Linked DNA regions of Homo sapiens: region 1 is linked to region 2. Evidence: promoter capture Hi-C in 16 types of primary human blood cells and fetal thymus (Javierre and others, 2016). All regions are on one chromosome and are shown on one strand. Each heading gives the region's core, a stretch centred on a gene start or on the middle of the fragment in contact. The rest is flanking DNA. Distances are from core to core; before and after follow the strand shown. Region 1 overlaps SCNN1A (sodium channel epithelial 1 subunit alpha). Region 2 holds the start of NOP2 (NOP2 nucleolar protein).

What was found. Contacts are between HindIII fragments. The CHiCAGO score rates a contact against its expected background, and 5 or more counts as called.
Region 1: a contact is called between a fragment that was not itself captured here and the fragment with the promoter of NOP2 in region 2, in 6 of 17 cell types (total CD8 T cells, non-activated CD4 T cells, total CD4 T cells and 3 more). The highest score is 9.2, in total CD8 T cells.

What each region holds. Positions count from the first base shown.
Region 1 is chr12:6,359,736-6,362,627 of GRCh38, reverse strand. It overlaps SCNN1A (sodium channel epithelial 1 subunit alpha), which reads left to right. Exons shown (of 13, transcript NM_001038.6): 4 at 387-577. Among named protein-coding and RNA genes, the nearest start is that of SCNN1A, 14 kb to the left of the region's middle. RefSeq lists an enhancer at 1-527. The HindIII fragment of the contact is 4,287 bases long and covers 1-2,892 here.
Region 2 is chr12:6,566,979-6,570,099 of GRCh38, reverse strand. It overlaps NOP2 (NOP2 nucleolar protein), which reads left to right and starts at 1,809. Exons shown (of 16, transcript NM_001258308.2): 1 at 1,809-1,893; 2 at 2,178-2,284. The coding sequence starts at 2,182. It overlaps CHD4-AS1 (CHD4 antisense RNA 1), which reads right to left and starts at 1,729. Exons shown (of 3, transcript NR_199067.1): 1 at 570-1,729. CHD4 (chromodomain helicase DNA binding protein 4) reads left to right here. Exons shown (of 40, transcript NM_001273.5): 40 at 1-18. RefSeq lists enhancers at 1,465-1,514, 1,338-1,959. The HindIII fragment of the contact is 18,468 bases long and covers 1-3,121 here.

The sequences.
Region 1 (2,892 bases), core at 283-2,782, 210 kb after region 2:
TTAGTAAGAGTGGGCTGGGGACTGGAGTCCTAGTCCCAGCTCTTGCTGGGACAAATCTCTTGATCCCTCAGTCTTCCCATCAGTGAAATGGGAGGGAAAGTCTTGCTCCTTCCACCCTAGGCAGGGGAGGTATAAATGAACCAAAACCGTGTGTGTGCAGCTACTGGTCTCCTTTCCTGGCCTGCAACTCCCTTAATCCCATGCTCCCCTGGTCCATGCTCCTAGGGACTTCTGCTTCTCTTCCACTTCTGTCTTTCCCCACTCCTGGCTTCCGACTCCTGTCCGTCAGTCCTCAGAACCCCAGATCACTCATTCTTTGCCCTTGGCCCTGCCAAGGGGCTTATCCCCGGCTGCGTGTCCCCTCTGACTCTAGTCTCTGTGTCCAGTGCAACCAGAACAAATCGGACTGCTTCTACCAGACATACTCATCAGGGGTGGATGCGGTGAGGGAGTGGTACCGCTTCCACTACATCAACATCCTGTCGAGGCTGCCAGAGACTCTGCCATCCCTGGAGGAGGACACGCTGGGCAACTTCATCTTCGCCTGCCGCTTCAACCAGGTCTCCTGCAACCAGGCGTGAGTCAGTCCTGCCTGGCTCCTTGCTCTCCGCGGGGTCCGCTTCCCTGGGTCAGCCTCACGCCCTGCATGGGCAGGGCCCAGGAAATGCTTGTTGACTAAAAAAATGCCAGTGCCAGCAGGCCAGGGGGAAGCACTGGCTTTGGGCCCACACCCTGCCCCAGAGAGCGCCCTACGAACTCCTGCTGCTCCCTGCACTGCTGGATCTGAGGGAAGTGGCCTCACAGGATGCCTTGGGAAGACTGGGGCTTTGAGAAACCAAAGGCTGGAAGCATGGATCTTGGTCTTTTTTGTTTTTCTTTTTTTTGAGATGGAGTTTTGCTCTTGTTGCTCAGGCTGGAGTGCAATGGCGCGATCTCGGCTGTCTGCAACCTTCACCTCCTGGGGTCAAGCAATTCTCCTGCCTCAGCCTCCTGAGTAGCTGGGATTACAGTCATGCGCCACCACGCCTGGCTAATTTTTTTATTTTTAGTAGAGACGTTGGTCAACGTCCATGTTGGTCAGGCTGGTCTCCAACTCCTGACCTCAGGTGATCTGCCTGCCTTGGCCTCCCAAAGTGCTGGGATTACAGGCGTGAGCCACCATGCCTGGCCAGGGTCTTGGTCTTTCTAAGGCCCCTTTCTCCCTAGCATCAAAGCTCAAAAGGGCCTAGGAGATCATCTGTCTCATACTCTGTTCCCTGAGCTGAGGCTGGCAGTAGTAGTGAGGTGGAGTGGCATGGGTTGAGGGACTAAACCTAAGTTCCCACTCTAGCTCTGTCACTTCCTGGCCAGGTGACTCTGGATGTATCACATCATCCTTCAGAGCCTATTTCTTAGATTGTAAAATGGAAGTAAAACAAAAAATGAGATTCATTCAGTGTTCGTTCAACAAATAGTTTTGACTATCTGGGCTATGTGCCAGTCACTGTTCTAGGCATTTGGACTACATCAAAGGAAAAACTATATAATCCATGCTCCTTTGGCACTTTTACTCAAGTGACGAAGATGATGACGATAACACTCATCTCAAGAGCTGTACCAAGTGTGTGAGATACAAACGTGAGGGCACTTTATAGACCACAGTAAATGATGGGTTTCATTACTCTTGTACTCAAACAGGTGAAGTGACTTGCCCTTGGGAATGGGCCGGCCCTGGCTAAGGATTCTTCCCACCCCACTACCCCTCGGGTATTCATTCTGTGAGGACCCCTGTTATAATGTCCTTGCAAGCAGCTCATAGCAGCTGCAGGTTCTCTGAGGGCTGGGAGAGGCTGAGGCGAGGGGGGGGTCCCCTTCTGTAACCTCTGGCCCCCTCCTCCCCTGCCTTCTCCTCCTGCTCGTTTATTTTCCGGAGCCATCTCCCTGCCTCTGCCTGGCTCCACTCTACAGGGGGCATTCCCTCCCCTGTTGCTGAAGAATGGCCACAGGGCAAGGTGTCACTTCTTACCCTTCACACACACTCTGCCCAGTACACGATTTTGTTCTGTTTTTAGTCTTTGCATTTGTTTGAGGACAGAAACTACCAGCTGGGAAGTAAGATGGTAGCAACACCTAAGCCTGAGTCCGCCCACACCTGTCACCAAGTTCCTCTAACTGTCACCTGGACACCTGTGCTTTCCCTATGCCCTCACCCGATGCCTCCCTTTGCTCTGTGTGCCTGCCTCCCCATCAACAGAAAGTCCATGGACACCTGTGCTTTCCCTATGCCCTCACCCGATGCCCTCCCTTTGCTCTGTGTGCCTGCCTCCCCCTCAACAGAAAGTCCATGGTTCATCTTTATCTTGGCACTTAGGCGCTTAGGTCAGCTCAGAGCCTCATTGCTCGCCTGGGTTGTTATACCCACCACTCCACCCTACTGCGTTCTTTTGCCTCCAAATCCTCCCTTCCTTCTGCAACTACAGGAACCTTTGTACTTCAACCTTACTTCACGTCACCACATGTAACTATTCCAGTTAGTCCTGTGTGTTAGTCCATTTTGTGTTGCTATAAAGGAATATCTCACCGGGCACGGTGGCTCATGCCTGTAATCCCAGCACTTTGGGAGACCGAGATGGGCGGATCACCTGAGGTCAGGAGTTAGAGATCAGCCTGGCCAACATGGCGAAACCCCATCTCTACTGGAAATATAAAAATTAGCCGGGTGTGGTGGCACACATCTGTGGCCCCAGCTACTCAGGAGGCTGAGGCAGGAGGATTGCTTGAACCCAAGAGGTGGAGGTTGCAGTGAGCCGAGATCGCACCACTGCACTCCAGCCTGGGCGACAGAGCAAGACTCCATCTGAAAAAAAAAAAAAAAAAAAAAAAAGGAATATCTGAGTCTGGGTAATTTATAAA
Region 2 (3,121 bases), core at 560-3,059:
AAGTTTCCTTGTATTTTAGTGCTCTGGTTCAGTGTGGGTGTAGGTGCAGGTGGATGAGTGTGTGCGGCAGGAGCCTGGCACCTGTATAGTTGAAAATTAAGGGCTACGTGGTGTCCTGATACCCCACTGAGTAACTGGGTTCTGTGTGTGGGTGCAGTATGTGCCTTGCCAACGTTGACTTCCACCTGTGGAAAATGAGAGGCTGCAAAACTGCGGGCACCGCCGCTTAATGGCTCTGTGACCTTGAGCAAGTTGTTTAACTTTGGTGGGATGCAGATATCTCATGTATACCTCATACGGTTGTCAAGTTAAACCAGTGAAGTACATGGAACGGTTTTAACACCTAACCACTACCTTAATGTTAGTTTCTAGGAAGGCTGAGGGGGGTTTTCTTGCTAAGTTGTGCAAAATTGGGATGCAATTTGTGGAAGAACACAGCCTCAATCCCACACCCCCGGAGGCCCGACCTAACGTCCTCCAACCTTGAAACCCTTGTAGTTCACCCCTTCTCATGTCCCAGACCAGGTCAGCCTTGCAACCCGTTGTTTCCCAACTAATTGTAGACCCACCTGAAAGCGAGTTCCGGCGAAGAGGCCCCCTGCGAATGAGGTGCAGTGCAGCACCTTAATTGAGGGGCTGAGCAGGGGTCAGCATCAAGGAAGGTGCTGGGAGGGCGGGGCACGGTGGCTCACAGCCTGTAATCTCAGCACAAAGGTGGGGGCAGGAGGATCGCTTAAGCCCAGGAGTTCTAGACCAGCCCTGGCAATATAGTGAGACGCCACCCCCTACAACCCGTCTCTATAAAAAGATTTTTAAAAAAGGGGCAAAGAGGAGGAGGTAAGTGGCATGGAATTCCACGGTTTTTTTTGTTTGTTTGTTTTGAGATGGAGTCTCGCTTTGTTGCCAGGCTGGAGTACAGTGGCGCGATCTCAGCTCACTGCAACCTCCCCCTCCCGGGTTCAAGCGATTCTCCTGCCTCAGCCTCCCGAGTAGCTGGGACTACACGCGTGCGCCAGCCACCATGCCCAACTAATTTTTGTATTTTTAATAGAGACAAGGTTGGCCAAGATGGTCTCGGATTTCTTGACCTCGTGATCCGCCCGCCTCGACCTCCCAAAGTGCTGGGATTACAGGCGTGAGCCACCGAGCCCGGCTGGTTTTTTTGTTTTTTTTTTTTGAGGTGGAGTTTCGCTCTTGGTGAGGCTTAAGTGGCACGATCTCGGCTTACTGCAACCTCCGCCTCCCGGGCTCAAGCAATTCTGCCTCAGCCTCTCGAGTAGCTGGGATTATAGGCGCCCGCCACCACGCCCGGCTAATTTTGTATTTTTAGTAGAAGCAGGGTTTCACCATATTGGCCAGGCTGGTCTCGAACTCCTGACCTCAAGTGATCCACCCACCTCAGCCTCCCAAAGTGCTGGGATTACAGGCGTGAGCCACTGCGCCCAGCCTGGAATTCCGTGATCTTGACGCTGGACTAGGGCAGTGGATGCGAGGGAGAGGGCTCCAATGTCGGGCCCTGGTTCGAGGAGAAGGTGCGGCTTTCACCCAACAGAAACCGGCCGTGAGGCTAAAAGCCAACTCCATGAGGGAAGGTCGGTCAAGCTCAATGGTTTCGTCACATTGCTCCCTCCACCCGCCGCGGGTGTAAGCTGCGCGTCTCCTTCGAATTGCCCCCTACTCGCCGCCGCCGGCTCCGCTGGCGTTCCCAGGGCGAGCGTAAGTTCCGGGTGCGGCGGCCGACTAGGCGCAACAGGAAGAGGCGGGGCCGCGAGGCTAGCGCTACCCGTGCGCCTGCGTGGAACGATTCTGTGGCGAGTGCCGGCCGAAAGCTAGGTCCGGATTGCACGTGGAGGGCCGCCCGAAGGGCACTCTCGGACATTAACCCGCATTCTGGTGGGTCTAGAGGAAATTGGGGGACGAAGAGTGGCAGCACTGACCTGGTCTGGGACGTGGGGAGAAGGGTGCGCTACCTGGGTTTCAGGTGGGAGGGCGTTCGGTCGGGCCTCCAGGGGGATAGCGGGGGTGCTTGAGTCGCGGGTGCTGAGTCGGGAGTGCTGAGTGAGTTGCGGGTGCTGAGTTGAGGCTGTGCCCTTTCCCACTATAATACGCCAAGCGTGCGTTCTGCCGTTCCCTCCGACACGCGCGACGCCACCTTCTCCCATTTCTGCCTGCCACAGTACCATGGGGCGCAAGTTGGACCCTACGAAGGAGAAGCGGGGGCCAGGCCGAAAGGCCCGGAAGCAGAAGGGTGCCGAGACAGAACTCGTCAGATTCTTGCCTGCAGGTAAGGATTAGTTGTGGCCTCCTGATCCCTCAGCTTTTGCAGTATTCTGTATTATAACCTCTTCTCTTTTTTAGTTTCTGTTCATTTTATATTTAAGTGGAATCTTCTCTGTATGAGTTACTAGGAGGTATGAATGAAACAGCCGTTTAGATTGTAGGGAACTGTTTAGGTCGTAGAGATGTGAAGACACGGACACAACTATTATTCATGCAAGGGAAAAGTGTGATTTAAAACAATTGTGAGTTCAGAGGAAGGGGGAGCCCATGCAGAACTGTAAAAGTTTTTGTTAAGCTGGGTTTTGAAAAATGGGTAACATTGTAGCAAGAGGAAGTAGTGAAGGGGAGGGGTCAGTCACTGATTTGCCTTTTGGAAGGGGTGGAAATGGAAAAGCACGGATCTGGCTGCTTCATGCCGAGTAGTAGTATACTGTGTGGAAGACTGGTGGGAGGTAACACTGGACCGGGAGTTTGTGTTGGGCATTGGATAAAGGATGCAGTTTATTGAGATAGTAGGAAGTCCTGGGCACTGTATTAAACTTGTTGGTCATGTTATATCGCTTAATCATCTTAGAGTCCTGTGAGAGAGGCACTATTAAGGAAACACTTTGGGAGGCCGAGGCAGGTGGATCACCTGAGGTCCAGTGTTCGAGACCAGCCTGGCCAACATGGTGAAACCCTGTCTTTACTAAAAATACAACAATTAGCTGGGTGTGGTGATGGGAGGCTGAGGCAATAGAATCGCTTGAATCTGGGAGAAGGAGGTTGCAGTGAGTTGAGATCACGCCATTGCACTCCAGCCTGGAAGACAAGAGTGAAACTCCATTTCAAAAAAAAAAAA